Linked DNA regions of Homo sapiens: all the other regions are linked to region 3. The links are contacts of gene promoters, found by promoter capture Hi-C in blood cells and fetal thymus (Javierre and others, 2016). All regions are on one chromosome and are shown on one strand. Each heading gives the region's core, a stretch centred on a gene start or on the middle of the fragment in contact. The rest is flanking DNA. Distances are from core to core; before and after follow the strand shown. Region 1 overlaps PDE4B (phosphodiesterase 4B). Region 2 has its middle 33 kb from the start of LINC01702. Region 3 holds the start of DYNLT5 (dynein light chain Tctex-type family member 5).

Region 1 (4,554 bases), core at 737-3,236, 790 kb before region 3:
TTTTTAAAAAATTTATTGATATGGTGATAAATATATTTTCTAATGATAAACTGCCTTTTCCTTCCTAAAATAAGCTCAACTTGGTCAAGATATATTATTATGGTTTTAAATTTATATTTGGAAAGTTTGCCTATATTTTATTTAATTTTTTTGCATCTAGTTTCATAAGTGAAGTTGACTGATATTTTTTTCCCACATTGTGGTATTTTAAAAAGTATCAATGATATGGTAGGCTCTTAGAGTGACTTGAAGATTGTGCCCTCTTTTTATCTTTTGGGGAAGAGTTTAAAATTTATAAATAATGTGGTAGGATTCACCTATACAATATCTGGGTCTGATATTTTCTTCATGGGAAGATTTTTTAAAACTGTGATTCGTTTTTAACCTATTTAAAGCCTACTCTTTATTCTTAATACTGTTTTAATGTTATGTTTTTTCTAATAATGTGTCCATTTTGACTAAGTTTTTTAGTATGTTGGTATAATGTGATACACACACACACACACGCGCGCGCGCGCGCGCACACACATACACACACGCAAAATACCATAGTGTTACCTTATCTTTTTAACCTGTTTTATCTGCAGTTGTATATCTGCAGTAATCTGCAGTTTTGTATCTGTAGTTATGACTTATATAGTTATATTTAAAACTTCTTTTGAAACAAATGTTCGTAACTGCATATCAGAAAAGTATTACAGAAGGTATTTAATCATTTAAATTTGAGTGTGTTCTGTGCTTCCCAGATGCAGAAATAAAATATTTTCTTTTGTTTTATTTTCCAACACAAGAGGGCAGCATTGCTGCACTGTTAATTTCCTGTAGGCTAACACCGCTGTGCCTTGTGTAGGTTTAAATATACAGCACATCTCTTTCAAATGGATAATCATTTGAGGATTGCATAAATGTGGACCTTGTCTATTTTTCACTTACATGACATTCATTGAAATTTAGTTTTGAAAACAATACTCTCTGATTAGCATTTATACATGTTTTATATTTGCTTCATTGTTTCTGATTCTGTAACAATCACCTCATTCTGAGAAGACTAGGTACTGTTGTGTTTGATAGTGTGTATGTATGGTAATTTTCTAGAAATCTGAATTTTTTTAAATGGGCTTTTCAATGATATTACTGAGAAATAGGTAGGGTACTATTTTGACATAAAGGATAAAGAACCCACAAAGTCCATGAGCTTCCTGTCGGATATGAGAGATTAAAACTGCTGCTGACTACACCACCAGGTCCATGTCAATTAACTCATTTGCAGATGGGAGGTGAGAGTGCAAAAATAATATTAACATTAATATTAAGTACCATTACTGGCTACTCATTATAGCTTAGATTCTTTATTTGCTCTACTTAGATTTATTTTTATAACATCATCCTGTAAAGTAGGTATTATTACCCCCATTTTTACAGATGAGGAGGCAGAAGCTTGGGTTGGCTAACTCACCCCTTAGTTCATGAGGGTCAGAAGAGGGTGCTGATTAATAAATCCCCAGGCTTTCTCACTACTGCACACTGCCTCACCATCAACAGCAAAACAGGTTGAATTCGACGATTCAGTAAAAAAGTAATTTTGATAGTTGAGTTCCTTTATCCCTTACCACGTCTATTTCACATATATGATTATTATTATTTTGGTAGAGATGAGGTCTTTTTATGTTGTTCAGGCTGGTCTCAAACTCCTGGGCTCAAGCAATTCTCTTCCTCCTGAGCCTCCTAAACTGCAGGGATTACGGGCATGAGCCACGTGCCTGGCTCACATATTTGATTTGGTCTAGGCTATCTTAACAAAATACAAAATGCTTTGTAAAGTCTACATTTTATTATTGCATTTGCTATTTTTAGCTCTTTATGTCTGAGCAATTGTTTAATGCCTGTGCCTGAGAATCTTTTTCTCAACAGGGGAACTGCGGGGGAGATTCCAGAAGTTCCTTTTAGAGTTGTTGTTTCACTGTATCAGTGCATCGGTGACTGAGAAGGAAGTATTTGCTTTTGTGTGGCAGCGCAGTAAATTCGCAGAACACAGTTCCAAGAAGCCCAAGGCACTAGCAAGAATGATAGGTCACCATCTCCATTATCTGTCGGTGGTGGATATGGAAGATAGCATTCTATATTAACTTTTGAGAAAGAGAAAGTTAGGCAAGAAGAGATTGCTGAAATAGATTGTCTGTGATTGCTGAGGTTGAAAGTTTTTTATTCTTGGCCAAGGAATGTATCTTTTGGGTTTAACATCACTTTAGGAGTCAGACAGCCTTGAATGTTAGACTGAGCTTTGCATTTTTTAGGTCATGACTTTAGGCAGATTCCCTGAGCCTCAGATTCATCATCTGTGAAAGAAAGATAAGACTAATACCAATTTATCCAGGCTAAAAATATATATAAAAATATATTTTTTCAAACATACACATTCAAAAATAATGACCATATTTTTAAATGCTATCCTACGTTGTGTCAAGGGCACCAGTTTCTAACTTAGAGACATTTGCAATTTTGAGCAGTGTCTTCTGAGGCCACTGGGTATCTCTAGAAAGCTTGAAGTTTAGGAGTAAACAGAAAAAAGCTTGTGAACATGCTTTATAAACTGTAAAGATTTGTAAATATATAAAATCATTATAATGGCTCCTCTCTCTGAACTCAACTTCCACTGGATACATGGCATATACTTTTGCATGTATCAACTTAGCTCAAATCAATAAAAAACATTTTTGGACTCCTGGTAAGTCCAAACATTTATTCATTAAAAAAATTATTAGGGACCTAAATGTACACTGTTTTAGGCACTGGAGATTGGACAAGAAACAAAACAGATGAAACCTTTGCCCGTGGAGCTTGTATTTGTAGAGGTGACATATGTGGATCACACATAGGTAGGATGTTTCATAATAATATAGAGAAAAATAAAGTCTAGGCAAATGGCTAGAGAATGGTGGAGGCTTGCTACTTTAGATGGAATTGTCCAAAAGCCTTCTTTGAAGAGGGAAAAAACTGAGCAAAGACTTGAATGAAAGAAAGAAACCAGCCATACATCTGTCTAGAAAAACTGAGTTATTGGCAGAGAGAACAAAAAGTCAAAGGCCTTGAAATGAGGATGTGTGCCTGGTATGTTTGCAAAATGGCAGGAAAGCTATGGTAAACCATACAAATTATTGGGTTTTCCATGTAATCCATTGTCTCTTTGAGAGACGATATCTATTATAATATTATAATTTTATAGCTCCTCTTTTATAGGTGTTCATAATAAGAATAAAGATAATAATTAGTACTTTTTGAGTACTTGCCATGTGCTATATTTGTCCTTACAACCCTCCCAAATAAATATAATTATCCACCATTATACAGAGACTCTAAATAGCTTTCCTAAGGTAGCATATTCAATAAGTTGGTGAGGCAACGGTTTGTCTTATTTCAAGTGCAGGGTGCATAATAACTCAATGGGAAGACAGATGAGTGAAAAATGCGTAGTAATGTCAGAGGGCTTATGAAAGGTACCTAGGGAAGGTGTCATGAAGTTACTTAGGGAAGGTGTCATGTTATGCCATAGAGGATCAGTTCCTTAAGGAAGGAGAAGATGGATTGGGAGTGGAGAGAGAATTTCCTGCGAGAAACAAAGGCATGAAGGCTTGAAAGAGCATGGGGTACATACGCAGTAAATAACAAACAGTTAAGTGCGGCTGAAGAGTCTGTAGCATGCGATTTAACACAGATGCTTCTCCACTTATAATGAGATTACAACCTGATAAACCCATTATAAGTTGAAAATATTGTTAGTCGAAAATGCACTTAATATACGTAACCCACAGAGCATCATAGCTTAGCCCAGCTTACCTTACATGTGCTTAGAACATTTACTTTAGCCTACGGTTGGGCAAAATCATCTACCACAAAGCCTATTTTATAATAAAGTATTGAATATCTCATGTAATTGATTGAATACTGCACTGAAGTGAAAAACAGAATAATTGTATGGGTACTCAAAGTAAGGTTTCTACAGAATGTGCATCCCTTTCACAACTTCCTAAGGTCAAAAAGGGGTCAGTTGAACCATTGTAAGTTGGGGACCATCTGCAGACATGCTCAGGTGCTACTTTGCCAGGCAGGGTCTGCTACTGTAACATAAGACACCTCCCAGCCATGGCTGATTGGACAGAGGTGGAACTCTGACCCACAGGTAGCAGAATCCACTGTTTTACTAGGGACATAGGATGTGTGTGGCTTGACTCAAGCAGCTGAGGTGACTGAATCAGATTCTGACTTTCAAAACATTGAAGCAAGGATGCAGAAACTGTTGCTAGTCCATGAAGGGCCCTGGGATAGGGAGATTATCCAAATTTGGGTGGCTCAAGAGGTCATTGGGCCATGGGAAAGCTGATTAGGAAGCTATCTACAGAAAGAGAAAAATGGAACAAGTACAGAGAGAAGCAAAGATGGAATATTATGAAACCTCGGAGAGAAATGGAGAGCAGCAGATCCTCAGTTTCTGTTGCATTTCCAGTTCTTTAGGCCTCACGAGGCAGGTCTATGTCCTGTCCTAGATCCCAGAGATCT
Region 2 (4,055 bases), core at 235-2,734, 740 kb after region 3:
TCTCAAACTCCTGTTCTCAAGCAATCCTTCTGCCTCGGCCTCCCAAAGTGCTAAGATTACAGGTGTGAGCTACAGTGCCTGACTCCACTTCTCAACTTTGAAAAGAGTGACCCCTTTACTATACGTTGGATAACTTTGGCCTAGATGATCTCAAAGGCTCTCTCTGTCTGCAAAGTCTGTAAAGATGAGAAAGTCCATATATGCAAAGCGGACAGTTTAGTGAGGAAGGCAGTTAATGTAAACATAAAAACATGTTTTTAATAAGTGAACTAATCCAGTTCACACCACTGGTTCCTTGATACAGTCATTCTCTAACAAGCAAAATGGGGCTGAAAGTATGCTGAACTGATGTAAGGTGTGCTGAGCTTTGACAGGTTCACTGCACCTTCACAGAGTACCTTGGACCTTTCACAAATACGTGTTCTGTTCATCCTCTCATCTTAGAGGTATCCAAGAACAGGACCTCGTCTTCGAGGTACCACCACTAGAGATAGCCTTCCCAGGGGCTGCCAGCTTTAAACTCTACAAAGCCTATGACATCATTTGGAATCAAAGTGGAAAAGTCATGGTAATAGTAGTTGTAATCAAATCAGTTAGGAATCTTTTGGTGACACATGTCAGAAAATCCAACCCAAAAATGACATGACCTAAGCTGGGCACAATGGCTTATGCCTGTAATACCAGCATTTTGGGAGGCTGAGGTGGGTGGATCACTTAACGTTAGGAGTTCGAGACCAGCGTGGGCAACATGGCGAAACCCTGCCTCTACCAAAAATACCAAAAAATACAGCCGGGTGTGGTGGTGTGTGCCTGTAGTCCCAGCTACTCTGGAGGCTGAGGTGGGAGGATCGCTTGAACCTGGAGGCAGAGGTTGCAGTGAGCCGAGATTATGCCACTACACTCCAGCCTGGGTGATGGAGTGAGAGTTTTTCTTAAAAAAGAAAAAAAAAGAGGCTGGCACAGTGCCTTGTGTCTGTAATCCCAGCTACTCGGGAGGCTGAGGCACGAGAATCACTTGAACCCGGAAGGCAGAGGTTGCAGTGAGCTAAGATTGTGCCACTGCACTGCAGCCTGGGTGACAGAGCGAGACTCCATCTCAAAAAAAAAAAAAAAAAAAAAAAAAAAAGAAAAGAAAACAGTGGAGGCTCTTGCTGAACGTAGAGTAAAGGAATGTTGCCAATAAATTTCAACAACAAACCTTTGAGCTCTTACTATGTGCCACACTCTGTGCTAAGCACACTAGGTGCATGACCCCATTTGATCTGTATAAATGACTCAAGAGGGATGCATTCAGATTAACCTCATATAATGGACGAAGAAGCCAAGGCTCAGAGACGTTAGGTAACATGTTCAAGGTCACATAGCTAGTAAGTGGTAGAGCTGCGTTTGAGCTAGTTCTCTCTGATTCAACATCTATTCTTGTTCCATTTTATGAAGCTGCCTGGGGCATCAGCTTCCTCTAAGGCATATAGACTGGAAACATCAGAGTCTTTCTCAACATTTCTTCTTCATTTTCTACATCCAGTTAGTCATCAAATTCAGTGGATCCTACTTCCACCAGGTTTTGTGCTGTCTGTTTCCATGTTTGGTTCCCATTGCCACTGCCCTAGATAAGGACTTGGTCACTTCTTCCTGGACTATTAAAATAGTTTACTCTTTTCTCAGAGACTCCACACAGGTGGTCTGAGAGTCATTTTAACTTACAAGTTCATACTTAAAAGTTAGAGTCCTGGGCGAGGCACAGTGGCTCTTGCCTGTAATTCCGGCACTTTGGGAGGCCGAGGTGGGCAGACAGCTTGAGCCCAGGAGTTTGAGACCAGCCTGGGAAACATGGTGAAACCCCATCTCTACTGAAAATACAAAAATCAGCCAGGTGTGGTGGCACGTGCTTGTAGTCCCAGCTACTTGGGAGGCTGAGGTGAGAAAATCCTTTGAACCAGGGAGTTTGAGGCTGCAGTGAGCTGTGATCGCGCCACTGTACTCCAGCCTGGATGACAGGGCAAGACCCCGTCTCCCAAGAAAAAATAAATAAATTTAAAAAATTAAAATTAAATTAAATTAATTAAAAATAAAAATTTTAAACAAGTTAGCATCTCATGAAAATCTGTATTGTTTGGCTTTCCCTGAAAAATGGAAAAATCTGATAACACTGGACTCATAATCTACATGGCAGCATTGGCTGGAACTGAGCAGCGGCAGCCCACTGATGAGAAGGTATGTGTGGTTCAGTTGACCAGGTACCTATTGCAATTTTGTTCCTTGTCTGCCCTCTGTAGGCATCTGAGTGTGCAAACCTAGTAGTTAGTCTCTCCCCATTTAAACCCATCCTCCTGTAGACCCTGCAGTTATCTTCCTAAACCATGATCTCAGTATTCTGAGTATTTCATACTCAATTTTCAGATCATATTTATTTATTTGTAGAGACAAGATCTTGCTCTGTCCCAGGGTGCTGTGGTGTGATCATAGCTCACTGCAGCCTCAAACCTCTGGGCTTACCCAATCCTCCCATTTCCGTCTCCCAAGTAGCTAGGACTACAGGTGTGTGCCACCATGCCCAGCTAAGTTTTTAATTCTTTGGAGAGACAGGGTCTCATTATGTTGCCCAGACTGGTCTCAAACTCCTGGCCTCCAGCAATCCTCTTGCCTTGGCCTCCCAGAGTGAAAGAATTACAGGTGTGAGCCACCGTGCCCAGCCGCAATTTTCACATTTCATAGTTCCTCATTGACTACAGATTCATTACACACTTGGTCCCAATCTACTTTTCCAGGCCTATCTCCAACTGTGCCCACATGTCCTCTGCTTCAGCCACATCCTTCTAGAATCTGCTCAACACCCCTTCTCCCACAGGGTTTGCTCAAGCCTCATTCTCTGGGCCTCTAATGTGCTTTCTTGGTCCTCTCTGTGCCTCCTCAAATCCACTCTTTGAATGATGCCCACATGACTTTCAATGACCAGTTTGATTCCTACCTCTTCCAAGAAGCCTTGGGTCTTTTCGATTTATTTATTTGTCTATTTTTAAATTTGAGACAAGGTCCCACTCTGTCACCCAGGCTGGAGTGCAGTGGTGCGATCACAGCTCACTGCAACCTCCGCCTCCCGGGTTCGAGTGATCCTCCCACCTCAGCCTCTGGAGTAGCTGGGACGACAGGCACATGCCACCACACCTGGCTATATTTCTTTGTATTTTTGGTAGAGACATGGTTTCGCCATGTTGCCCAGGCTGGTCTCAAACTCCTGAGCTGGGATTACAGGTGTGAGCCACTGCACCCGTCCCATGTTTTGTGAATTTTACCACATCTGGGGAAAAAGAGTGAGCTAACGTCTATCAGGCACACAAAGCAAGGCATGGGGTTGGGGTTTGATAGGAGGTGGGGAGGAGATTTCTGGTAAAGAAAGCAAGGTTGGGAACCAGTGAGGTAGCTCAGAAAGGCTGGTGTTATAAAGTGCTTGAGGTTGCCGGGGGCAAGGCCTGGGCCTCAGAGCAGCCAACTAAGGTTCCAGAGGCAGATGGGAAGCACATAGCCTTAGAAGCCCTTCCCAGTAGCTCAGACTCTGTCCTGCAGGGAATGGGGCACTGGTAACAACTTTCAGGAGGCCTGCAATGTGCTATGAGTGTGCTTTTTCTTCCCCTTTTTCTGTTGAGACAGGGTTTCACTCTGTCACTCACAGGCTGGAGCGCAGTGGCATGATGATGGCTCACTGCAGCATTGACGTCCTGGGCTCAAGTGATCCTCTCACTTCAGCCTCCCGATTAGCTGGGAACACAAGTGTGTGCCACTGTGTCCAACTATTTTTTGTTGTTGTTGGTAGAGATGGAGTCTTGCTATGTTGCCCAGACTGGTCTTGAACTCCTGGGCTCAAGGGATCCTCCCACTTTGGCCTCCCAAAGTGCTGAATCACCACACACGCTCAAGTGTGCTTTTTAAGAAAGATCAAGCCTTCCAGTGTAATTTAATGATAAAAAAAAGAAGGAAAGATCAAGCTTATTCCCTTATGCAGGAGGGTAAAATTAGCAGAAATGTGGAGACAATAAGGAAATTATTTTAACAAGCCA
Region 3 (4,255 bases), core at 245-2,744:
AATCACCTATTTCACAAAATCCTGAATATGCAATTATTTATTATGACACGTTACTGCAACTAGGGCTCCCATTCCAGAACAAAGTTTAATTCTATATGTAAGTTGTTACTGAAATGTGATTTCTTTTTCTGGAAAATAAATGAAAAATATGAAAATAAATTGAATTGTGAATATCTTTTGCTGTCAGCCTCTTAAAATTTTACCCGCATTTCTGGAAAACTTCATTCCATGTTTAGGGTAGGGATGGTGGGCCAAAGGTCTGTCAAAGGTCAAGGGTTAAGAGTTAGACAAATTTCAGCTCTGTGATTTAAATATCGACTTGAGCATGTTACTCAACGATTCTACATTTCCTTATCTTAAAAAAAAATAGAGTAATGTCCCCTATGTCATAGTCACTGAACAAATTCAATGAGATAATGTTTATTCATCACCTAGCAGTTCCTATCTAGTCCATAGTAGATATTCAATCAACAATCCTTTCCTGTTCTTATCTTTCTGTGAGTAGAGATTGGGATGGGCAAAAATATCTATTTCTCTTCTTCCAACACTATCCTAACACTGTGCTCCACCGGAATCCCAATGTATTACTGTCAGCTAATGCTAATTCCAGCAGGACACTCATCAAGAGCCATGCCCTTGGCTAGATGCTTGGAGGCATCTTGTTTCTGCTTCCAATGATTGCCCACTACAGGAGGGTCCCTATAGTGTTTATTTTGTTTGCTTTTGGTTTGGGGAGGCCCAAACCAGGCTTAGGCTGGGGATAGTCGCTGAAGAAGAGGAAAAGCCCATTCATACCAGCAGGTAGGTCCTCAACCCCAAACAGCCTCATTTCAAAGCTTCTTAGACATTAACAGGCTCAGAAGAGTCTTGTTAAGGAAAGCGAAGGAACCCAGCCCGGTTTGTAACACATTGGAGTTAAGACCATGAGTTTCAGGGGCCTTGGGCATATTATTTAACATTTTAGAATCTCAATTTTCCAAATCCTTTAAAGGGAAAACATTCCTTTCTTGACAGAGTTATTGGGACGACTAAATCCCAATGTTTGTCGGTATCTGGGGTATCTGGCCAATGTAAGTGCTCATTTACCTCCACATTCCACCGCCTGTGCCTTGGAGGGGGAACGTGCGAAGCAGCGTTAGGAGCCGGGAAAAGGGCAGGGCTACTTTACTTTGTCTTTGCGCTTCGGATTTCCTGTGCTAGGAAACCGCAGCACTTCCCACTCCTGCCCCTGATGTCTGCGGGAAAAGGAACTTGATGAGGGGCCCTAGGGGTGCAAATGTCTTTAGTCCCAAATGTCTTCCTCGCTACACAATGAACCAGTTCCCCTCCAGCTCGCCGCCAACCCAGGACGCAGCCCGGCTCAGAGTGACCCCCAGTGGGCAGTGAAGATGAGATCCTCTACATCCTTAGGGCAGCTCAGAGGGCCACTCAGCGGCCAAGTCCGGCCGGGGAGGGCCGAGGGCTCTGTTTGAGGTCACCCTGGAGACCGGCCTCAGAGTCCAGGGAGAGTGCGCGGGCGGCCGCCGGCTGAATGAAGCCTGGGACGCGGGAGCCGCGCCGCGCGCAGTGTCTGCAGTGCCGGAGGTCTGGGAGGCTCCGGGCGAAGCCTCCCTGCTGCAGGTAGGGTCGCCTCTCTCTGCAGCGCGTCTGGACCCCAAAGGAAGGATAGGGGGCAAGGGATCGGCCCTTTGTTGAGAAATGGCCCTACTTGGCCCCGATCTCTCCGCCACCTTATTCCTCCTCTCCCCAACACATAAGAAAAAATGATCCCAAATTTGGGAACTGAAAGTCGGTCCCAACGGTTCGTCCCCTGCCCCATTGCATGGCTGGGGGCTGGGCTTCAAGAGTGATGGCCAACGCAGAGCCGGCCAGCAAGGTCATCCCCTGACCCGGGGCGGTCTTCCTGTGGCTGGCCGCACCCATGAGGACCTCCAGGTCCCAACTCTGGCCTTTCTTGGGGAGGGGGCGGCCTGCAGGGCAGCTTTGGAAACAGCTGAGGCCGAGATGGGTCTATGTGGCTTTGCAGCAAAACCTGAATGACCCACCTAATCAGGCTGTGTGTCTTTCCACACTCATAAACACACTCACCTTCGTACACACGAACACAGACACACTTATACACACAGGCACCTGCACACACAGAGATGCACACTCACAGGTACACACTCAAGGACGCTCACACTCACGTGCACACACACACCACGCTGCCTGCCTCACCCACACACAGCACCTCTGCTCTGACATTGATGCCACTGGGTTTTAGGGTATGTTCTTGTGTGCCCTACCTACTCAACTGCCAGCTCCTTGAAGGCATGGATTCTCTTCTATTTTTATGCTTTGGTGTCTAGCACAGTATTTCCTTATCGGGGCTCTCACATTTATAGATTATGAAATAATTTAAATGAATACTTAAATTTGTAGGTAGACAATGAGGGCATTATTAGAGTTATAGTCCAAGTTCTGGGAAGTCCATTGCTACTACCAGCTTTTTAACAAGTATTAGTAGGAAGGAGGGAGTTTTCCAATAAATTATTTATTTAAAAGTTAAGTCCTATTTGCTCTTTACAAACTATGTAAATGTTGCTCGAGAAAACAAAACAAACAACAAAAAATCTTTGGGAAAGCAAGGTTAATTTTAATTTTTATTTATTTATTTATTTTCTAGCTCCCTACCCCTAATTTTATTTTTTAAAGTCATGGTGGGTCAGGCACAGTGGTTGATGCCTGTAATTCCAGCACTTTGGGAGGCCAAGGCAGGAGGATCACTTAAGGCCAGGAGATTAAGGCCAGCCTGGGCAACACAGAAAGATCTTGTCTCTACAAAAATGTTTAAAAATTAGCTAGGCATGGTGGTGCAGGCCTGTAGTCCTAGCTACTAGGGAGGCTGAGGTGGGTGGACCGCTTGAGCCCAGGAGTTTGAAGTTACGGTGAGCTATGATCATGCCACTGCACTCCAGCCTGGGTAACAAGAGCTAGATCCTGTCTCTAAAATAATAAAATAGGCCAGGTAGAGTGGCTCATGCCTGTAATCCCAGCACTTTGGGAGGCTGAAGCAGGATTGCTTGATCCCAGGAGTTCAAGACCAGCCTGGGCAACATAGACCCTATCTCTACAAAAAATTAAAAATTAGCCCAGCTTGATGGCATACACCTGCAGTCCCAGCTACTCAGGTGGCTGAGTTGGGAGGAACGCTTGAGCCCAGGTGTTTGGGGCAGTAGTGAGCCATGATCATGCCACTGCACTCCAACCTGGGTGACAGAACAAGACCCTGTCTCAAAAATAAAATATAACAGTGACAGCAAATATTAATTAGCAAAGTTGTATTATGGTTACATTTGGGGGGCAATACAAATATTGGTTTCTGATGTAGGATAGCATCTTTCTGCTATACATGCATATCTTTTGTCAATGACCTCCGTCTTCATCAGCTAAGCATTTTTGCTATAGCTTAATATCTGCTTATGTAAATAATTATACTATTGCATAAATAAGCATTTTCAGAGTTATCATAGTTCCAGTTTCACTGATCAGAATAACAACAAATTCTATATATTGCTCTTGAGGAAACCCCACTTTCCTGTTCAAAAATGGTAGGAAAACTATCTGTGTACTTTGAGATTAGTCCCTGTTATACTAACTAAAATGTTTCCGGATCTTTCTTTTGCTATTTTACAAAAGTCTTCTTCCATAGGTTATGATGATGTCAGACAATGCTAAAGGCAGAGCAGCTCATTCATGGAAGAAAAGAGGGAGTATTTCTTCTCTAAGTAATCATGAATTTTGGCGAAAGGAAATTCATGGGCGCATCAAAGAGTGAGTAACTGTCTAAAATTGTAAATTCATTTATTGAATAAATAGGTTCGTAATGTTTATTAGGAGAAAAAAACACTTCCTCGGGGACATAAAAAGAGATAAAATGGGCAAGTACAAGGTGCAGGTCATCTTTAGGGGCCATATTTAAAAAGAAAGAGAAAGAGAGAAAGCTTAAGTGATAAGTTAATCCTAGCAGCATTTTTGCTATTTCAAAAATCATCCCAAAAAACCCTCTGCTCAAAAGAAACACCACATGCAATGTAAACCAGACACGCTTATATGTCTTTTGAGTTCTTCTCCTCAATATTTTATAACATAGGTTTTGCATTTTTGTAATCAATACATACATATACAATGTACTTAACATTATTGTATATAATTTTGTCATGTATTTTCATAGTTTTTTCCATATCCTCTTAAATGACTGCATAATATTTTGTCA

The links. Contacts are between HindIII fragments. The CHiCAGO score rates a contact against its expected background, and 5 or more counts as called.
Region 1: a contact is called between a fragment that was not itself captured here and the fragment with the promoter of DYNLT5 in region 3, in 1 of 17 cell types (naive B cells). The highest score is 7.1, in naive B cells.
Region 2: a contact is called between a fragment that was not itself captured here and the fragment with the promoter of DYNLT5 in region 3, in 7 of 17 cell types (total CD4 T cells, naive CD4 T cells, total CD8 T cells and 4 more). The highest score is 8.4, in total CD4 T cells.

The regions. Positions count from the first base shown.
Region 1 is chr1:65,958,244-65,962,797 of GRCh38, forward strand. The region is part of intron 3 of PDE4B (phosphodiesterase 4B); the gene reads left to right. Among named protein-coding and RNA genes, the nearest start is that of PDE4B-AS1, 90 kb to the right of the region's middle. The HindIII fragment of the contact is 1,103 bases long and covers 1,436-2,538 here.
Region 2 is chr1:67,487,580-67,491,634 of GRCh38, forward strand. No RefSeq gene overlaps it. Among named protein-coding and RNA genes, the nearest start is that of LINC01702, 33 kb to the right of the region's middle. The HindIII fragment of the contact is 4,993 bases long and covers 1-3,981 here.
Region 3 is chr1:66,750,965-66,755,219 of GRCh38, forward strand. It overlaps DYNLT5 (dynein light chain Tctex-type family member 5), which reads left to right and starts at 1,495. Exons shown (of 5, transcript NM_152665.3): 1 at 1,495-1,620; 2 at 3,692-3,813. The coding sequence starts at 3,695. It overlaps SGIP1 (SH3GL interacting endocytic adaptor 1), which reads left to right. Exons shown (of 25, transcript NM_032291.4): 25 at 1-175. The HindIII fragment of the contact is 3,147 bases long and covers 835-3,981 here.